Regions from separate parts of the Homo sapiens genome. Here regions 1, 2 and 4 are each linked to region 3. Evidence: promoter capture Hi-C in 16 types of primary human blood cells and fetal thymus (Javierre and others, 2016). All regions are on one chromosome and are shown on one strand. Each heading gives the region's core, a stretch centred on a gene start or on the middle of the fragment in contact. The rest is flanking DNA. Distances are from core to core; before and after follow the strand shown. Region 1 has its middle 8.2 kb from the start of LINC02724. Region 2 holds the start of RPS6KA4 (ribosomal protein S6 kinase A4). Region 3 holds the start of RASGRP2 (RAS guanyl releasing protein 2). Region 4 holds the start of LOC105369341 (a long non-coding RNA gene).

The links. The method cuts DNA at HindIII sites, captures the fragments that hold promoters and counts their contacts. A CHiCAGO score of 5 or more calls a contact.
Region 1: a contact is called between a fragment that was not itself captured here and the fragment with the promoter of RASGRP2 in region 3, in 2 of 17 cell types (M0 macrophages and endothelial precursors). The highest score is 6.5, in M0 macrophages.
Region 2: a contact is called between the fragment with the promoter of RPS6KA4 here and the fragment with the promoter of RASGRP2 in region 3, in 1 of 17 cell types (M0 macrophages). The highest score is 6.9, in M0 macrophages.
Region 4: a contact is called between a fragment that was not itself captured here and the fragment with the promoter of RASGRP2 in region 3, in 4 of 17 cell types (M2 macrophages, M1 macrophages, endothelial precursors and 1 more). The highest score is 9.7, in M2 macrophages.

Annotation. Positions count from the first base shown.
Region 1 is chr11:64,454,999-64,459,486 of GRCh38, reverse strand. No RefSeq gene overlaps it. Among named protein-coding and RNA genes, the nearest start is that of LINC02724, 8.2 kb to the right of the region's middle. The HindIII fragment of the contact is 1,577 bases long and covers 486-2,062 here.
Region 2 is chr11:64,357,849-64,362,657 of GRCh38, reverse strand. It overlaps RPS6KA4 (ribosomal protein S6 kinase A4), which reads right to left and starts at 3,496. Exons shown (of 17, transcript NM_003942.3): 1 at 3,368-3,496; 2 at 3,209-3,280; 3 at 2,277-2,495; 4 at 2,066-2,181; 5 at 1,417-1,524; 6 at 1,109-1,189; 7 at 913-1,016; 8 at 656-806. The coding sequence starts at 3,422. RefSeq lists enhancers at 2,101-2,210, 2,944-3,471 and a silencer at 3,221-3,710. The HindIII fragment of the contact is 11,991 bases long and covers 1-4,809 here.
Region 3 is chr11:64,741,820-64,746,323 of GRCh38, reverse strand. RASGRP2 (RAS guanyl releasing protein 2) reads left to right here and starts at 2,182. Exons shown (of 17, transcript NM_001098671.2): 1 at 2,182-2,321; 2 at 3,387-3,530; 3 at 4,212-4,314. The coding sequence starts at 3,458. RefSeq lists silencers at 1,066-1,265, 1,516-1,625, 2,616-2,665, 2,826-2,875, 3,186-3,515 and 1 more. The HindIII fragment of the contact is 16,622 bases long and covers 1-4,504 here.
Region 4 is chr11:64,418,302-64,423,467 of GRCh38, reverse strand. LOC105369341 (a long non-coding RNA gene) reads left to right here and starts at 3,253. Exons shown (of 4, transcript XR_001748069.2): 1 at 3,253-3,331; 2 at 5,103-5,165. LOC124902689 (a long non-coding RNA gene) reads right to left here. Exons shown (of 2, transcript XR_007062720.1): 1 at 2,846-5,166; 2 at 2,398-2,736. The HindIII fragment of the contact is 311 bases long and covers 3,217-3,527 here.

The sequences.
Region 1 (4,488 bases), core at 25-2,524, 290 kb after region 3:
ATGTTATATACATTTTACCACAATTTTTTTTAAAGGCAAGGAATGGATAAACATGTATTAACCTAGAAAGCACTGTGCAGTTGTGCAGTGAACACTTCCTGCGCACCTCGGTGTGGCAGATGAGGTTCTGGGGTGAGGCAGATGCTCTGGCAAGCAAGAAAAATGAGGTCCCTGCGCTCATGGGGCCGACTTCCAGTGGAAGAAAAGTCAGCAAGTGAGGTCATCCCAGAACCATCGTGTTACAGAGAAAATACAGGAAATGGAAAGGGGGTGGGGGTGCGGGGCGGGGCGGGACAGAGAGCCCAGGGGAGCCTCTTTGAGAGGGTGATGTGATCCCATGTCTGAGCACCAGTGGGATTTCCTGAGATTCCCTTCTTACTGCTCAGCTCCCAACACATTCGATCCCGTCTCCCCCTTCTCCATGGGGCTGAGAGAGATGCCTGGATTCTGAGGGGTAAATCCTTCTCAGTTAATAAAGAAAAGCTTTGTTTAAAAAAAAAAATAGGGGTTTAAAAAGAAGTGAATAATTTAGCCAGGATTAGTATTCACAAGAAAGAAAGTAAGCATTATGTTTACTTTCTTTTGGGGGGTTGGGGATGCTGTCTCCAACGCTGCAGAGGATTTTAGGAAGAAAAGTGACACCTCAGCGTGGCCAGTCCTGAGGAAGAACAGGACAGGCAAGGTGCAGGACAGGGTGATATTGCTTTGTCCTCAGTCTGTGGGGCTCCTTTCTCCCACCCCCGCTTGAGATAAATCTCAGGCAGGCACATGGTCCCAGGCAATGTAAGTCATGTCCTCACTTCTAGATCCAAGAACAGCCTTGGCTCAGTAATTATGACACCCAAGACCAGGTGAGAATCCAACTCTCCATCTCACTAAAGGCTGAGGCTCAGCCCACCGCAAGAAAGAAGCTGGCAGTGGCTGCCGGGGACGAAGGGGGAGGTCCTTTTTTTTCTTATATCTATTTCTTTAAATTGGGGTGAAATTCGTGTTACATAAAATTAACCATTTTAAAGTGTACTGTTTCTGTGCCATTTAGTACCCTCACGATGTTTTAAAGCCACCACCTCTATCAAGTTCCAAAACATTTTCCTTGCCTGAAAGAAAACCTCATACCTATTCAGCATCACTCCCTATTCCCCACTGGCTCCGCCCAGGCTCCATCAATGGGCTCTGTCTCTGGATCTTCCTGTTCTGGTCATTGACCAGGGACCGCTCTGCAGGAGAAGCTCTCAGGAAGTGAGGGAAGCAGATGAGGGAGGGGTGCAGGCCAGGCAGGCACGTGCCCTCAAGTTGAGTCTCAGGTTCTGATCCGAGGAGGCTCTAAAGAGTAAACCCCACTGCAGGGCTGTCCCAGCTTGAAGCAATGGAGCTGGTCTTTTGTCCCCTTGATTCCTCAGCCACTGGCTGTGGCCTGTCACTGCAGTGAGAAGGGGACTTTACACCGCAGGAAGAGCAGCTCCATTGGCTGAGGTCAAGTGTGGAGAAGACGGGAAACTCCCTGCCACTAGCAGTCCCTCTTGCAGCTGCTGATGGACGGACATGTGCCCTGGCCAGGTGAAGGGGTCTGGGCCAGGCACCAGACTGTCCACTACAGCCCACCCTTTGCACCATTCAGACCTGTTTGCTTCTCGCATAGAGTCCACTCTGTGCAGGCCCAGCTTCTCCAGGACGGTCAGAAACCCTCCCTGGGGAAACCGCCACAAGGCAGGCTCTTGCGAAGGACTAGGGACCCCATTGCTGCCACTGACCCCAAGGCCTTAACTGATCCATGCCATCGGCCCCCTTGACTCCTCCCTTACTCTCTGCTGGGCTGGGGCCTTGCCTGGTGGGGCGACCCAGACTCTCATCCCTGAGGGGTCTGAGGCCCTGGTTGCCATGGCCTGATCACGCCATGGTTGCTGTATGTGCCAATTTACATATAGGCCCCATCCTATAGCTGCATTCCTCCCTCTGCTGATCGGGATCCCTGGCCCGTGCTGTGTAGAACGTTCATTCCATACCTGCTGGGCCACTAGCACAGAAGCCCAAAGGCACCAGGCAGCAACCAGAGCTTCAAGCTTGGTGGGACCCTCACCATATCCCCTATGGAAGCCATGTTCCCTCAGGGACCAGGACTTCTTGATGGACAAAGCCTAATGGCGTGGGGATAGGAGGCACAGATTCCTCAATGTGGGTCACAGGGGAAATGGCGAATAGGGCCACTCCTAACCCTTATGCTGCCTGGAGTGAACACAGTGCCTTATAATTGCTTAGTTTAAGGAGCAATCACACCCTGAGGGATAGTGACCTGGTATCACCTCAAAGCTGTGATCCCAGAGGCCATTCTGCGGCTGCCCAGGCTGGCATTCCAGAAGACGTGATCTGCAGTAGGGCTGGCGGATCCCACGGTCACGTGCCCACTGCCGCACCTGCTTCCCCACAGAGTGAATCCCCTGGCCTTAGGTGATGTCATTCAGAATCCTGTGTAGGAGAATCAGCCACTTAGAGAGCGAGCCCTCAGAGAGTGATGTTGGCAGAGACCCCAAAAGTAGGAACTGCAAGCCCATTCCTGGAATCGGGCTGATGGAACTGAGTGAATCTCTGCCCTTTCCAGGGTGGAAGGGGTCCTGTGAAATCAGTTTGCTACTAAGTGGCTGGCCAGTCATTTCAAGGGAATGGGACAGTACTGGGAGCTCAGCGTTGGTCTCAGTTGCTGACGGATCAGACACGCAGAGGTGGCAGTAACCGTGTCAGCCTCGATAAGTAGAGGCACGTGCTCTTGGGCCCAGGAGTAGCCGCCGTCTCTGCCGCCATGACAGTTCCACTCGTGAGCCCATTGCCCAAGCCCTATGGCAGCCAAGGATGAAGGCCAACTGGGTCGTCCTGTCCATTTGGTTGTTCAGTGTCTCTTCCGCACGGGATACTCTCGGATGTTAATCTGAGATCAAGATTTTCACTCTTCATGCCTGTCCTACCAGCCTACACACATGCCTTTCCCCCAGCCCTTCTTGTTCCTGAACTTCCAATCTTTTTGTTTTTGTTTTGAGATGGAGTCTCGCTCTGTGGCCCAGCCTGGAGTGCAGTAGCACAATCTCGGCTCACTGCAACCTCCACCTCTCAGGTTCAAGCAATTCTCCTGCCTCAGCCTCCCGAGTAGCTGAGATTACAGGAATGCGTCACCATGCCTGGCTAATTTTTGTATTTTTAGTAAAGACAGGGTTTCACCACGTTGGCCATGCTGGTCTTGAACTCCTGACCTCAGTGATCAGCCCACCTCGGCCTCCCAAAGTGCTGGGATGACAGGCGTCAGCCACCGAGCCCGGCCTAAACTTCCAGTCTTGCTCCTTCTAGATCCCTGACCCACCAGCTAAGCCACTGTCCACTGTCCACAAGCCCATGTACATTCTTTCCTCAAGCCACTTCTCTCTTTGCACAAGTGCACACACCAGGTGCACTGCCGACGGCCTGCCGCTGTCTTTGAGGGCCTCCCTGGGAGGGCTGTGGTGCAGCAGCCACACGCGTTCAGCTCGCAGGAACACGTCCGCTGGGGTGAGACTGCAGCCTATCTCCGCTGGTCACAGGAAAACCCCCCAGGATGTGAGCTGAGGGGAGGCCTTGGTGCCGCATGGCCAGAGGCAGGGGGTCTGGACCACGTAGCTCCTGCCTTGGGGACCTTTGGGAGCCCAATCCCTGATGTGCCACTTGTGCCTCATGACGGATGCCTGGCCTTGTGATTTGGTGACTCGTCAGCTCATGGTGAAAAGCTGTGTCCACTTGATCACTTGATGTCCCCTGGTCAGATGCTCAGTTTCTCCCAGGGCTTGGGGACACATCCAGAGCCCTTCTCTGCTGCAGATGGCGTGGCGTTGTTCCAGCACCCTCGGGGTCTGCACTGTGGCTTTCCTATTGGGGCCTGCCAGGGACACCGTGTGGTGACCCTCTCCACTACAGACACCCCGTGTAGCACAGGGTCTGCAGAGTCACATGTCCCAAGCACACTTGCTCATAGAACTGCATCTCCAAACTAGCAGCCTTCTGTGTCACTCAAGAAATGGGCCAAAACTGGATTCCCAAGTGCTGAGTATGCCACCCCCAAATTCAAAGAGTCCCGCCAGAAGTCGTGCCTCCTTCCACGTGGTAGGAAGGACAGGTGCAGTAACCACCCTTTACTTTGCAGGAGATAGCCCGACATGGCCAGACCACTGGCCCCGTCAAACCCCTACAGCATGGCAGCCCCTGAGCCTTCCCATTAACCCCCCATCCTCCTCCCCCACATATTCTACGAAAGCTTCCAAGGGACCTGCTGCTTCTTGCTCTGTAGGTCTGGTTAACACGATGTTGCTCCTGGCACTGACCAATGTGGTGGCCTGGAGGCTGCCCCGATGGGCTGGATCCCTTCAGACTATGTTGTGATAGAGAACAGGAAAATTGACGTAGCCCTGGGGTAAGGCCGTGAATGTACACAGCTGCATCCTATAGATCCGTGATGACCTTACCCAGCTCCAG
Region 2 (4,809 bases), core at 2,247-4,746, 380 kb after region 3:
AATGAGTTCATGTCCGCAAAGGGCCGACACACAGTAGGTATTGACTGTTACAAAGTCCTGCTGGGCGATGACGCTGGCCAGGCCCAGCCCCTGAGTCAGTGCATTCTCGCATGGCCAGATTCACTCTGCACTGCACTCTAACATGTGTGTGCTCCTAACAAGTGAGCAAACACCCATGTGTGCTGATCAACCGTCCATCTGAATGACAGGCACACAGACTGTACAGGGACGGGGACAAAGAACAAAATGCCTGGGTGGGTGCTAAAAGCCATAAGTGTGGGTTTCCGTACTGATTTGGACCAGCAGGAGATCTATCTAGACCCAAGGTCTATTCCCAACTCGGCACCATTTACTGTGCCGTCGGGGGCAGGTCACCTGCCTTCTCTGGGTCTGTCCAGTGAAAGGACCGACCAATCCATTCTCAAATCCCTGACAGCCCCAACAGCCAATGAACCTAGAATCCTTTCTTTCAGGAACACATCTGCCAAGTTTCAGTGGGGATGGATGTGAAGAGAAACCTAGCTGACACACACTTGCTTTCTTTCTCTGGGGGGATTTCCAAATAAAGTGAAACTGGCCAGGCACAACCTCAACCTGGAACAGCAGCCCCACCTGGGTATGCACCAGGAGGTATGGGGCCCTGAGTCAGCCTCACCTGGAAGAAGGGATGGTTCCGGACTTCTTGTGCCCCCTGGGGCCCCGCGCCCAATCGCTTCTTAGGATCCTTACAAAGCAGCCGCTGCAGCAGGTCCTGCGCCACGGGCCCGATCCGAGGGGGGAAGGGAGGGGAGCACTTCAGGATCCGTCTGGGAGGATTGGGGGGGTGTCAGGGGCAGCAAGCCCCCCACCCACAGCCCTGCCCAGGCAGGCCCTGCAGCCCTCTGGCCGCCCTCCACGTCCAGCCCTACTCACCGAGACACCTCAGCCTGCGTGTTCCTCTCGCCCTCCAGGGTGAAGGGCGAGGCCCCCGTCAGCAGCTCGAAGAGCAAGATGCCCAGGCTCCACCAGTCCACAGCCTGCCGGGTGGAGCCGGGGTGAGGGCCTGCATCTCCCCTGCCTCACACCCCACCTTTCCACCTCCCCCAGCCCCACTTCCCTGCCAACCTACCTTGCCATGCCCCGTCTTGCTACGGATGATTTCGGGGGCCATGTACTCGATGGTGCCACAGAAGGAGAAGGTCCGCTCTTTCTGGGAGGGCAAGAGGTCCTGCTTAGATGTCGAAACCTCTCCTGTGCCCCAGTGCCCCACAAGGCCCAGAGTAAGACTCGCTCAACTTGTGAGGTTGGAGAGCTGAGCTGTGGAAACTTCTTGGAGCTATTCACTTCTGCAGCCCCAGAATGCAGGCCCAGAGCAGGAAGAGGCAGGAAGGAGAAGGATTGAATGGGGCACTGCAGGCAGAGGTGGCCTCCACTCACCTCCTCCGTCAGGAACTCCTTGCTCAGCCCGAAGTCCGTGAGGACAATGTGGCCCTCGGAGTCCAGCAGCACATTCTCCAGTTTCAGGTCTCGGTAAATGATGCCGAGCTGGTAGGAGCAAGAGGGGTGCTGAGGCTTCCTCCCCGAAACCCTCCCCAGCTCCTCCAGCTCCTGGCCCTGCTCAGGATAAGGAGACCCCCCAGAGAAAGTCATCTGCCTGTAGAGGGGGTCTCCAGGGCAGAGCCACTGAATAAGAAAGGCCATTTAAGATATAAAACAAAGAAGGAGGGCCCCGTGGATCAGGCCCCAAGGTCCCAGAGAGAGGAAAGTCTGTGTGAAGAGCTCCATTTCAAGGAGGCCTTAGGAGCCAGGCCGTGAGGTTTCCATTTGAGGAAGTTCTGTGAACGCAGCCCCGAGTTCCCTGAAAGAGGAAAGCCCCTTCGAGGAGGTGCCAGGGGAGGGGACCCCACCAGGCAACGTTGAGGCTTCCTGCAAGGGGTCCAGGGGAAGCAGCTCCAATTCCCACCCAGCTCACCACTGGCCCCCCAGGAAGCCCAGGGGGAAGCCTGAGGCTGCCCTGCGTGCAGATTCCTTCCAAGGCACAGACCCAGTTTCCATAGCAACAGCCTGCGGCCAGGTCTTCACCCACCTTGTGCAGGTGTTCCAGGGCCAGCACGATCTCACCCCCATACACGCGCACCTCAGCCTCCTTGAAGTACTGGCGCTGGTAGAGGTGGGTGAACATCTCCCCGCCGCTCACATAGTCTGGGAGGTGCAGTGGAAGTCAGGAAGCAGCCCCGTCAGGTGGCCTCGCCTGCCCCCAGCCACCCCAACCCCGTTGGGATGTGGTGTGCGCTCACCCAGGATGAGGTGCAGCTTGGCATCCGTCTGGAAAGCGTAGTGCAGCGTGACCAGGAAGGGCGCCTGGCGCACCAGCTCCAGCACCGAGCGCTCGGTGCGCGTGTGCTCTTGCGTCTTGGCGCGCTGCACCAGCGCCGCCTTGCGCAGCACCTTCATGGCGTACAGCTTCCCCGCGTCGTGCCCGCCCGCCTTCCGCACCAGGAACACCTTGCCGTAGGCTGTGGGAGCAGCGAGTGGGTGGAGGGTGGGCTGTGAGCGGGAGATTGGTGCAGGCTTGGGGGGTGGGGGCGATGCCAACCCAGGAGGGTGTGCAAATGAGGCGAAGGAGCTGGGGCAACAGGCAGGTGTGCAAAAAGCTGGCAGAGCCTTCTAAGGAAAGGGTGTGCACACCCCGGGAGGGTGCCCAGCAAAACCAGGGAAAGGATGTGCAAACCAGGCTGGGGAGCATGCATCTCCAGGGGGCCTGCTGCGAGGCATGGGGGCGGGGCATATGCAAACCTGCGAGAGATCAGATGGATGTGAAAAGATGCCAGTGCAAGGAAGGGAGGCAGAGGTGTGCACCTGGCTGGGGAAGGGATGCGCAAACCAGCGCTGGGGCATTTGCAAAATGTGGGAGGGGGATCCCATATTGGAAGAAAGGGAGGAGCTATGCAAATCACTTGAGAGGGGCGCCAGTCCCCCTCCCCAGGGTGTTGGCAAATCCAGGGGGGTATGCACGCACAGGACCGTGGAGGGAGGAGTGATGTCAATGTGGAGTGCCCTGGAAGTGGGCATGCAAACTCTGGCGAGGCAGGGCGGGGCAGGCAAGGCAGGCTGTGCCGGGAAAGGGTGGGGGGCCTGCTCAGTGGCCTGGCCCAGGCCCAAGAGTGAGCAGGCAGGAGGTCAGGGGCACCGCGCCTGGGACGCCTGCCCGGTGGATGGGGGTCCTCACCTCCCGTGCCCAGCACCTTGAGCAGCTCGAAGTTCTCCACGCTCACCTTCTCCTCGTGCCCGGTCAGGTTGGCTGTGGGCACAGGGGGCGAATGAGCCCAGCCGGTCCATGACCCGTCCCGGCCTGCCCCGGGCAGCCGCAGTCAGGCCCCACACCCACCTTCTGTGATCCGCAGCTCCACGGCGCAGCTCTCATCGTCGTCCTCGTCCCCCATGGCGGGCGGGTCGCTGGGGCCCGCGCGGCTCGGGCTCCGGGCGGCGCCGGTTACATGGCGGCTCCGGCCGGGGCGGGCGCTTCCTGGTGCCGCCTCCGGGGCCGAGGCGGGCGCCGGCACCGCCTCCCGGCTCCCCGCCCTGCGCGGCCTGAGTCAGGCGGCTGGAACGTGACAGCGCCGGGCTGCCGGTGGGCGGCCGGCTGGGGCCGCCCTGTCTCCCGAGCCCCCAGGCCAGGCCTCAGGGCCGTGCGCTCCGGGACCTTACTCGACTCTCCCGGGAACTGGAAACACCCCGTGGGAGCCATCCCTGAGCCCGTGGGTAACCTGGAGCCTCTGGGGCATTAGTCCCCAAGCCAGGAATCTGCCCGGGAATGCCGGCTGCAGCCAGTGGCTGGAGGACATTAGGAGTCTGTGCCCCAAGGTGGGGGACGAGGTGCCTGGTGCTGGGCAGGCTGAGAGGGGGTCTGGATCCTGGAAGTCACCCAACTCTCAGGCAGTGGAGCCCACCCCACTCCATCGTCCTGGGGGTGGCCAGCAGGGCCCCTCTCCCCAGAGGACTGGCCTTTGCAAGGAGGAGCCTCATCACCAAGAGGGGGCTGGAGCCCGGCCTGGGACCCCATGGCAAGGAGAGGAGTGGCCAGTTTTCTGACCAGCTTTCTGTCGGGGGTGCCTGCAGAAGCACTTCAGCCCCCAGTCACCGTGCAGAGCCCACCAGGTGCCATGCGCACCTCACGTGTTCTGCTCCTGTTGTCTCCTAGCCTGGTGCAGTACCCAGCTTAGAGCCCTGAGCAGGCCTCAAGAAGAGATGTCAGTGCCACACGGGGCTGCCCCCTCTCCCCATGAGGCCCAGGGCCCCTGCTGACTGGTCCTCCTGAGCCCCTGCTCCGTCTTCTTCCTGCCTTTCCCTTCCTGACCACCAATGGGGCCACCTAGCAGAGTGGGACAGCCATGAGGCCCCACACCCTGAGGCCGGTGGGAGGGGCTCTCAGCTCCTCTGCCAGCTGGAGAGGCCAGGGTGTCCACCCCACGCCCCTGTCCTGTGAAGCCCTGGCTGAGAGGAGGAGGAACTCAAGCTGCTGCAGGTCACACCTGGGAGGCCGGACGGACCGTCCCTCCCAGCTCTGCACCCCCCAAGTTCAGGCTGCCTTATCTCAGCCCTGGGCAGCTCCACCCTCCCCTGGGTGGCCCCAGGTACCCTGACTCACATCCTGCACCCCAGCCGAATTGCCCCGCCTCTCAGGCATCAGGCTAGAGGCCCTGGTCAGAGAGCCAGCGTCCCTCCCACCTCTCCTGGCAACCCCTGGCATTAAGTGATGCCCCGCCAGGCTGAGAACTCCCTGGGGAGGGGGCTCAACCTCAAGGAGGGAGGGGAGATGAGTAGGAGGAG
Region 3 (4,504 bases), core at 933-3,432:
TTATCCTCCACCCTCGGCAGGTGCGTCCCACGGCGGGACGGTGATGGGAGGTGGAGGGGGCGACCCGTGGGGGCGGGGCCTAGGCCTCTCCAGCCCCTTTCCTGGCGTCACCCTCCACGCCTCTCTTCCCAGTGCCGTGTCCATACTAGGTCAGCGGCCAGCCTCGCTGGCCGGGGGCGGGGCGTCTGCCTGGGTGGGGCCCACCGGGGCTGGGAGCCGGGACTTGGGCTGAGGCTTCCCGGACCACGGAGGATCCGCGCTGTCGAGGGCAGGACCCAGGAGGGGGAGGAAGCAGAGGATGCTCGGCGCCTTCTTGGCTCCGCCCTTAGCCCCGCCCTACTGCGGCGTTTAAGGGTCTCTTAGCAGGTGGCTACACTGGATCCAAAGTCGGGGGAGTGTTACGGCAGGGAACACTCGCAGACCGCCTAGTCTAGGCCCTCATTATGGGGAAACTGAGGAACAGAAAGGTCCTGTTTCTAAGTCTTACATTACCAAGACTGAGGTGCGGGGGCGGTCCTGGATCCCCCGCCCCAAGGCTGGGAGGGGCACGCCTCGGAAGGGAGGTTTGGGGTCGGTGGTTTCACAGTGAGTGTGTCTGAAGCCAAATGGTCGGAAACCGTTACCCGCTCTCCTAGGCCCGGCTAGTGGGGACCCCAACCGCCTGCGGCTGCCCCTCCCAAGTTCCTCCCTGTTGGCCAGGCATCCAGGTCTCCAGTCTCCGAGCTGCGGAGAACCCACCGCCACATGCGGCTGCCCCTTTCCATTCGACCCTGTGGGGAGCCAGGCTTCCGGGGCCCCGTTCCTCCTGTGTGAACTGGGCCCCCCGCCCCCATTCCCAGACATCAAGGCCGCGTCTCCAGATAGCCACGATTTCATTCCTCGCTCCCCACAGGTCCCTCTCCCCAAAATATTCCCATCTTGTCCTAGCCCATCCCCCAGACTATCTCAAGGACCAGCTGTCCCCACGCCCCCGACCTCCACTAGGCCTGTGCCACCCGCTGCCTGCAGGAAGACGCCCGGTCCCGGGCCGGGTTAGCCCCATGGGAACGGTTTGTCTCGAAAACAGGAACCCGAGCTGGGGGCTGGGCGGGGCGCCCCTTCCCCACCGCAGTCCGCTTCCTGCCCCTCCCGGCTTCCTCCGCCCGACACCCAGGCAGGGCGGGGGGCACTGGGGCGTCCGCGGTTGGGGGAGGGGCTCTTCGTTTCGGTCCCCCCTCCGCGTCCCGGGCGGCGGGGCCTCCGGTCGCCCGCCCTCGGGGCAGCTAGTGGCGCAGCCCCCCGCCCGCGGCCCTGGCCTCCCGGGCGGCGCGGCAGGGGAGGGGTTAAGCTGCCGCAGGGACCGCCGCGTGCGGGGCGAGAGGGAGCCCCCGGTGGGGGTGGCGCAGCCGGCGGTGCGGAGCTCCGCGCAGGGGCGGAGGGGGGAGGGGGCAGCCTGGCGCGGGGGCGGGGGCGGGGCGGCGGGGAGCGGGGCCGCGGCGTGGAGAGCGGGCGGGAGCCGCAGCCGCAGCGAGGCCGGCGGGCGGGAGCGCACGGAGGTGGGGTCGGCCAGGCCGGTGCGGGCTCCTTGCGGCAGGTCCCAAGAGTGAGTGGGCGAGCGCGGGCGGGGCGCCAGGCGAAGGAGGGCGCGGCCCCCAGCGACTCCCCCCCCGCCCAGGGCGGCGCGGGCGGGCTGGGGGCGGCGAGCGGGTGGGGAGTCTGCGGCCCGGGTCTGGGAGAGGGGGCAGCGGCCACGAGAGCTAAGGCGCGCTGGATCCCCGGAGGGCGGAGGACCTCCACGGTGCACCCAGCTTTTCCCAGCCACCTTCCAGCGGGGCCCTCCCCCGCGTACCCCCATTTGGCAGATGAGAAAATTGAGGCTCCCAGAGGCCAAGTGATTCTCAAGGTCACACGAGGAAGCGGTAGAGCCAGGCGGGGACGGCTCTGGGTGGCTCTTAGGAAAAGTCCGCCTGAGAACTCCGTACAGGAGCTCCCCTGTCCTCCAGCCTGGGGGAGTGAGTATGTGTAGGGCCGGGGTACCTTTCCGTGGGGCAAGGCTCTGCCAAAATCTGGGAGTGAGGGGAGTCAGGGAGCTGGGGCCGCAGGGCGGGCCCTGCACCGCAAATGGGAGGGGGGCGACGGAATGGGCGTGCGCACCCATGGGGGTGTGTGCATGTGTGTGGGAGTGTACATGCGTGGAGAGGCACTGCCTTGCGTGTGTGCACACGTGTGAGGATGTCAGCGCCTGTGTGGCCGCGGGACTCAAGGCTGGCCTGGCTCAAGTGAACAGCACGTCCAGGAGGCGACCTCGTCCGCGGGTTTGCATTCTGGGGTGGACGAGCTGGGTATGTGTGCCTGAGGGTTTCTTCGTGCAGGTGTGCACAGGGTGTGGGTGCCATTGTGTGTGAGAGACGGAGGATGGGAGGCCGGTGCCTGTGGCCCGGTGCGTGTAAGTGCGGACGCCTGCACCTCCACTTAGGTCCCCGGCCTCCGACGAATAACTTGGGTGTGGAGTGTTTGCCCCTGCCAGGGTGCGTATGACCCCGCCAGTGACCGGAGTTGCTAATGGTGTCATGCACCCACCGGCCACCCTTGGCGCGAGCGCCCCCCTCTGGACACCCTGCTCCGTGCGCGCTCACAGTTCGCCTGTGCGGGGCCGGGGCCAGGGTCAGGAGCCGGGGATAGGGAGGAAGAGGGCCTGTGGACAAGCTGAGCCGGGACCCCTGGGACCTTTGCGGAGGTGGCCTGGGAGCGCTCAGTTCCCAGGCTCAGGCTTCCCGCTGACGCCTCCTGGCCGCAGCGGGCTCCCCCCGCCCCAGGAATGTTCCTCTCCCATCCAGTCCGCCTCCCCTAGGGCAGGCCCCCTGGGGGCTGCCGCAGCCCCGCCTCGCCTTCCTGGGCTCCCGGGAGGGGGCGAGGCGGGCAGGACGCCTGGGTTCTCTCCCCCCACCTCCCATACCAGGGAGAAATTCCTCCGAGGTCCCCTCAGGCTCTGGGTTCCCAAAATAACCCTGCGGGGGAAGGGAGGCTGTGGAGGGAGGGAAGCGGGAGGGGCGCAGAGCCGAGCTGCGGGGTGCTGCAGGTGCCTCTGGGGAGAGGGCGCGAGGAGAAGGCGCCCTGCGGGGGGCTGGGCGCCAGCCAGTCCTGGGATCTTGGTTCGTCCCCATCCTCGTGAAGCCCCTCGGCCTTCCCGCGACTCCGAGGGTGGGCCGGAAGCCTCTCTGCGGGTCCGTTTCCCAACTGGCGGGTTGCACCATCCCGGGCCAGACCGTTTAACCCCGGGAGTGGCCGCGGGGGACAACTCCGCCCCTGTCCAGCAGGGGGCGTGCCCGCCCCGCCCCGTTTCTGCCCGCGGGGCCGCTCCCCCGCCCGCGACTCCGCAGACTCCCGCTCTGCCTCTCCCGGGACAGGGGTTCGGTCCGAGCCCGGTGGGAGGCTCCCGGAGCGCAGCCTGGGCCCAGCCCACCCCGCGCCGGCGGCCATGGCAGGCACCCTGGACCTGGACAAGGGCTGCACGGTGGAGGAGCTGCTCCGCGGGTGCATCGAAGCCTTCGGTGAGTGGCTCGGGAGGGCACACGGAGCCTGAGCCTAGCCCCGAGTCTGAGCCCGGGTCCCTGCCTCCCAGGCACAGTCCAGGGCACAGCCCTGACCCGGACCCACCCTGCTCCGCAGCGTGCAGTCTCTTTAACGAAAGCCTCCTCCGCAACGCAGGGCAGAGAGATGCACGCCCTTCAGACAGATGAGGTTTCCCTTCTCTAGCCTTCCCCAGCGGCGGCGAAGGGAGGGCCGGGTCCCGGACTCTGACACTTGAGGGGCATTATCTGTCTCCCGGGGAATCCGGAGGAACTCGCTATCTCCGGCCTGGGAGCTGTTTCCGGCTAATGGGGGGCGGCTTATCTGGTGAAGGGGTGCCCCTTCCCCCCAAGCGCTCAGGAAATGACCTCTGGATTCTTGACCCCGGGGAACCCAGGCTCCTTCCGCCCCAGCTGGTTCCCCTCCGGACGATGGGCGGCTCGGGCGCTCCCCTCCTCCAGTCCTCAGGGCGTGCCTATCTCTCGCCCACCACACCTTTCCTCTCTAATTTGCCTCCTGCTCTCGGAGTCCTGGGCAAGCAGGAGGTGGGCGGGGTCGAGCGTGCACCCGAAGGACCGATACCTGGCGGGTTGCGGGGTGAGGATGAGGCATGGTAGCTGCGGACCCAGCTCAGCCACCTGTCTTTGACCCTTCGGAGTCAGATGACTCCGGGAAGGTGCGGGACCCGCAGCTGGTGCGCATGTTCCTCATGATGCACCCCTGGTACATCCCCTCCTCTCAGCTGGCGGCCAAGCTGCTCCACATATATCCTTCGCCGGCCTTGCCAAGGCCCCCGCCGTCGGAGCCCATGCGCAGCCCCTCTGCCCAGCCCAGGTGCAGAATGAGCCTCGCTCCTAAGTATAGGCCACTCCTTATCCCAGAGCTCAGGCGTCGTCCCAGCCTCCAACTAGGGCCTAGGCTCTGCCCCCTCCTTGCTCCTAGCGACTCGGTCCTG
Region 4 (5,166 bases), core at 2,123-4,622, 320 kb after region 3:
GGGGGAGAAATCCGTGCACAAAAGAGTCAAGCAATTCTGGTATCTAGCCAGAACTTCACCTGTTTCTTGTTGTTTGTTTCTTTGAAACAAGGTTTCCACTCCTGTCACCCAGAGAGGAGTGCAGTGGCATGATCACGGCTCATTGCAGCCTTGACCTTCCAGGTTCAAGCAACCCTTCTGCCTCATTTTTTAATTTGGGGAGTTGAGGTCTCACTATGTTGCCCAAGCTGGTCTCAAACTCCTGGGCTCAGGTGATCCTCCTGCCTCGGCCTCCAAATGTGCTGGGATTACAAGCGTGAATCACTGCGCTCGGCCAGGAACTTCAACTGTTAATTGAAGCCAAGTGGCCTTAGAGGGTGTTGCAGATGAAGACTTCAAGGAAAATGGAGAAAGTATTATTGGAAACTGGAGGAGAGAAAATTATTGTTATAGTGTCTGAAAGTTTAGCAGCACTGTTATCTGTAGTAATGTGGAAAGTAGAAAATGTACTTAATGGGCTAGGTGATCTTGTTAGGGAGATTTCCAGGCAGAGTATTGGAAGTGCCACTTCACTTCTTCTTGCCTGTTTTAGTAAAATGAGATAGGAGAGAAATAAGCTAAAGGAAGAACTGTTCAACATGAAGGTGCCAGGACTTTCTGGTTCTGAAAATTCCCATTTTCTACAGATGGCAAACAATGCTAAATTTAAGAAATAGTTTCTGGGAAAAGATCAAATCCAGGACAATATCAGGAAAACATAGTCTAATGATGAAGCTAGAGGAGTGATTATAAGCTCTTGTATTATATCTTCAGAAAATGTAAAGGGTGCTTCAGAGAATCATTCATAATAAGGTTCCTAAGAAGTTTAAAGATATTCCTCAGCAGTGTCAGCAGAATGCCAAGGTAGAGACAGGCTTATCTCAAAGAGACTTGTTAAATAGAGCAAACCTCAAAAAGATTCATAGGGGACCCAAAAGGGCTTTACAAGAATTGTATTGGCAGAAGCACTGCTAGTTTGGACTGAAAGAAACAGACACAATACAAAATAAAAAGAAGACTTTGGACTTCTTTTCTATAGGTAAGAAGAAAGCTAAGAAAACCAATCATCTGCTAAGATAAGCCACCTTTCATGAAAAAGAAAAGGTGACTCAGCCCCCAGACAAAGCCAACAGTCCCTAGGGCAGAGCCAAGAGCCAAGGAGAATTATTTCCAGCCCTGAAGTCCTAGTGTAGTAACTTCCAATGTGTGGTCTGCTAGATTTAAGAATTGCTATGTGCTAGTGACTCCTGTGTGCCTCCTTTTATTTTTTTTCTAAACAGGGCCTCACTATGTTGCCCAGGCTGGCCTTGAACTCCTGGACTTAAGTGGTCCTCCTGCCTCTGCCTCTCGAGTAGCTGGGTCTACAGGCACACACCACCACAAACAGCTCTATGTGCCTCTCTTCTCGAATTGGGAATGTCTATAATGGTTATCTTATGCTTCTCACACTGTTGTATGTTGCAGGGTACAGAGATACAGAGATACAGATAACTGCCTCTTTAGTTCACATGTCTTCAGATCAAGCAAAACTATTCTCAAGAGCTGTACTTGAGGAGCCTTACCCTAGAAGCCTCATCTGAACCTGATTTAGATGATGAGATTCTGGACTTTGAGCTTTAATAAGATGAGAATTTTGGAGGCTGTGGGAGGAGGTAAGAGTATTTACATGTGGAAAGGATATAATTTATTGGGGGCCAGAGGGTGAGCTATGATAGACTGCCTCCTACATGGCCCCATATGATATCCCCTCCTGCTATTTACACCTTTATTTAGTCCCTTCCCACATCGAATAGGGAAGACCTGTGTAGCCAGTAGGATATTGTAGAAATGATAGTGTGTGCCTTCTGAAGCTTTAAAGACATTGTGGCTTCTGTCTTGTTCTTTCCAGGATTACTTGCTCTGGAGGAATTCAGCCACCATATTGTGAGGACACTCAAGCAGCCCTGTGGATAAGCCACATGGTGAGGAAGTGAGGCCTCCTGCTAACAGCCAGTCCCAATTCCCCGTCTATGTCAGTGACTCATCCTGGAATCAGAGCCTTTTGGCAGTGGAGCCTATAAATGGCTGCAGCTCTGATCAATAACTTGGCTACAATCTCATGAGAAACCTCAAATCTGAGCCATCCTGCTAAGTAAACCATTCCAGAATTACTGCCCCACAGACACTATGTGAGATAATAAATGTTTATTGTTGCTTTAAGCCACTAAGTTTTTTAATAAACTTTTTTAATAGAGATGAGGTCTTGCTCCATTGCCCAGGCTCATCTCAAACTCCTGAGCTCAAGCCATCCTCCCACCTCAGTCTCCCAAAGTGCTGGGATTACAGGTGAGAGCCACCACACCCAGACTGTTTTTTAATAATTTGTTATGCAGCAATAGATAGGTAATACAAATGGTCATCCATTCTTTATTTAAATCCTTCCAGGATCAGAGAATTCATCTATTCATTCATTCAACAAACAGTTTAATAACTGTTGGTATCTACTCTGTGCTGGCCAAATAGTTACCACCCCTCCCTGTGGGAGCATGGTATCTCCCTAAGCCCATCAAGTCTGAAGACATATTTGATCATGTGATTCTCTGTGGCCAATAAAATGTGAACAGAGGGATATAAGCCACTTCTGAGCAGAGGCTTTAAAGTCATTTCTCAGTTCTGCCATCACTCTTTTTCCTGTGCCTCAAAACCAGCAGTTTCATAGCTGATCTTTCAGCCTGAATCCTAGAATGAAAAAAACATAGAACAGGCTCACACCTACTGCAGGCAATGTGCAACATTAATAAGAACAACCCTTTTTATTATAATTATTATAAGCCACTGAGTTTGGTACCTGTTTGTTACTTGGCATAACCCAGCAAAAGCTGACTGATACAGTCACACTGCATCCAGACCTGGTGGGATGACTTTTTTATCTGAGTCTTCTTTATCCTGGCTTTCCTCCTCAGAATGCTTCCTGGTTCCTAATTGTTTCTCAAAAATGTGCCTCCCAGGAGTCAACATGATGGAGTCTGATCAGCCCAGGGCATGTTGGCCTTCCTTTCCAAGACCTGGCTGTCAAACACTCACAACATGGCTCCTTGAGACTTGGGAAACTTTGTTGCCTGGCAGCCTCACAGCCTGGAACACAGAGCTTCCCACATACAGCTAGAGAAGAATGCCTCCAGGGACCAAAATGACGTCATGAGTCCACATTCTAAAGCTTGAGAACTTGTCCCTGAGGACAGATTTCTAACCTCCTTAGAACCTAATTAGGCTTCCCAACCTGCAATCTAACGAGCTTGGTGATGTGGCTGCCAAGTTTACAGCAGATTCAAAGGTATGAATTAAAGATAAATCAAAATGCCAGGCAACCCAGCAGAATCGACGAAACAAACAAGAGTTGGCTGAGCGCCAAATGGTGTCAGGCACGACCCATCTCACAACCATCTGTAAAATAGGTATTAATGTGCCCATTTTACAGGAAAGGAAACTGAGGCTCAGATAGGTCACTAATTTGACAAAGGTCACAAGCTTGTCAATAAGGATTCAAATGGGCATATGGTAGAGACGATATGAATGGCAGCTCCTGGTGCTGATTTTGGCATTGGTGCTGGTTGAAGGGAAGGCAGAGCCAGCGGGGAGGAAGAAAACCATGAGATGGGAGGGTAGGGGGAGATTTTCAGTGGAACAAGGACCCAAGTGGAGAAGGGATGAGCCCCGGGGTATGGAAGAGTGGGGTACAGGGGAGGAGGGAGCACCTGGGAGCCCAGGGAACCCTGGAAAACCATCCCCACCTCAGAGAGGGCCTTCCTTAGGGCAGGCCATCCCTCGCTGTGCTCCCCAGAAGGCCAAGCCCTAGCCTGGGTGACATGACCTGGCCACTGCACTGCACTGCCTTCCCGGGCTCACACAGCGCCAGGCTCTCACAGGACCATTTGTTGAGCTCTAGGAGTCTGGACCGATTGGCACATATGTATGGACCAGGACAACATCCAGTGCCAGGTTTATTGCTGCCAAGCCAGAATGGAGACTGCTTATGCCCATGGAAATGAACTTGCCAGTGCCGGCCCAGGCACAAGAGCTGGACAACTGCCCCTGGTGGGGGCTGCCCCTTGGAAGAGAGCAGAGGTGCAGCTGGCAGACAGGAGGGCCGAAGAGAGACGGACGGAAGCAGCTAGTGATCCCCTGCTCGGGACCCTGCTTCTGTCCAAGATCGCCTGGGTCCCGTTTCCTCCCGAGGAGGGCACAGAGAGAGCCCCAGGCATTCCTTCACCTGTTCTCTCCAGGGAGGCCCAGAGGCTGCACATTCCCCTCAGGACAGACAAGTGTCCGGCCCAGCACTGCGTGTGGGCACAGACAGGAGGAGGAGTTGGGGCACCAGCATTCTCCATCCAGACACCTGACTAAGACCAGGACCACCTGGCATTTTGGAAACCTTGATGAACACCTTCCCAGGGTTTATCTAAATTATTCTTTTTAACTTTTATTGTGGTGAAATATGTATATCGTAAAATTTATCATTTTAGCCATTCTTAAGTATACAGTCCAGTGACATTAAGTGCATTGTTGTGTGACCATCCCCACCATTCAGCTCCAGAACTTTTTCATCTTCCCAACCAGAACTCCACACTAACCCCCCATTTGCCCCTCCCCCAGCCCCTGGCACCCACCATTCCACTCTCTGACTCTATGCATCTCACTCCAGGTGCCTCCTATAAGTGGAATCCTACAGTATCTGTCCTTTCATAACTGGCTCGTTGCACTTAGCACGAGATCCTGAATGTCTATCCACGCGTAGCATGTGTCAGAATTTCCTTCCTTTTTAAGGCAGAGCAATATTCCACTGTATGGATAGGCCACATTTTGCTTAGCCATTCATCTGTTGATATGGTTTGGCTGTGTCCCCACCCAAATCTCATCGTGAATTGTAGCTCCCATAATTCCCACTTGCGGGAGGGACTCAGTGAGGAAATAGTTGAATCATGGGGGCGGTTTCCTCTGTGCTGTTCTCGTGGTATTGAATAAGTCTCATGAGATCTGATGGTTTTATAAGGGGAAACCCCTTTTGCTTTGTTCTCATTTCTCTCTCTTCCTTGCCGCCACATAAGACATGACTTTGCTCCTCCTTGCCTTCCACCATGATTGTGAGGCCTCCCCAGCCATGTGGAACTG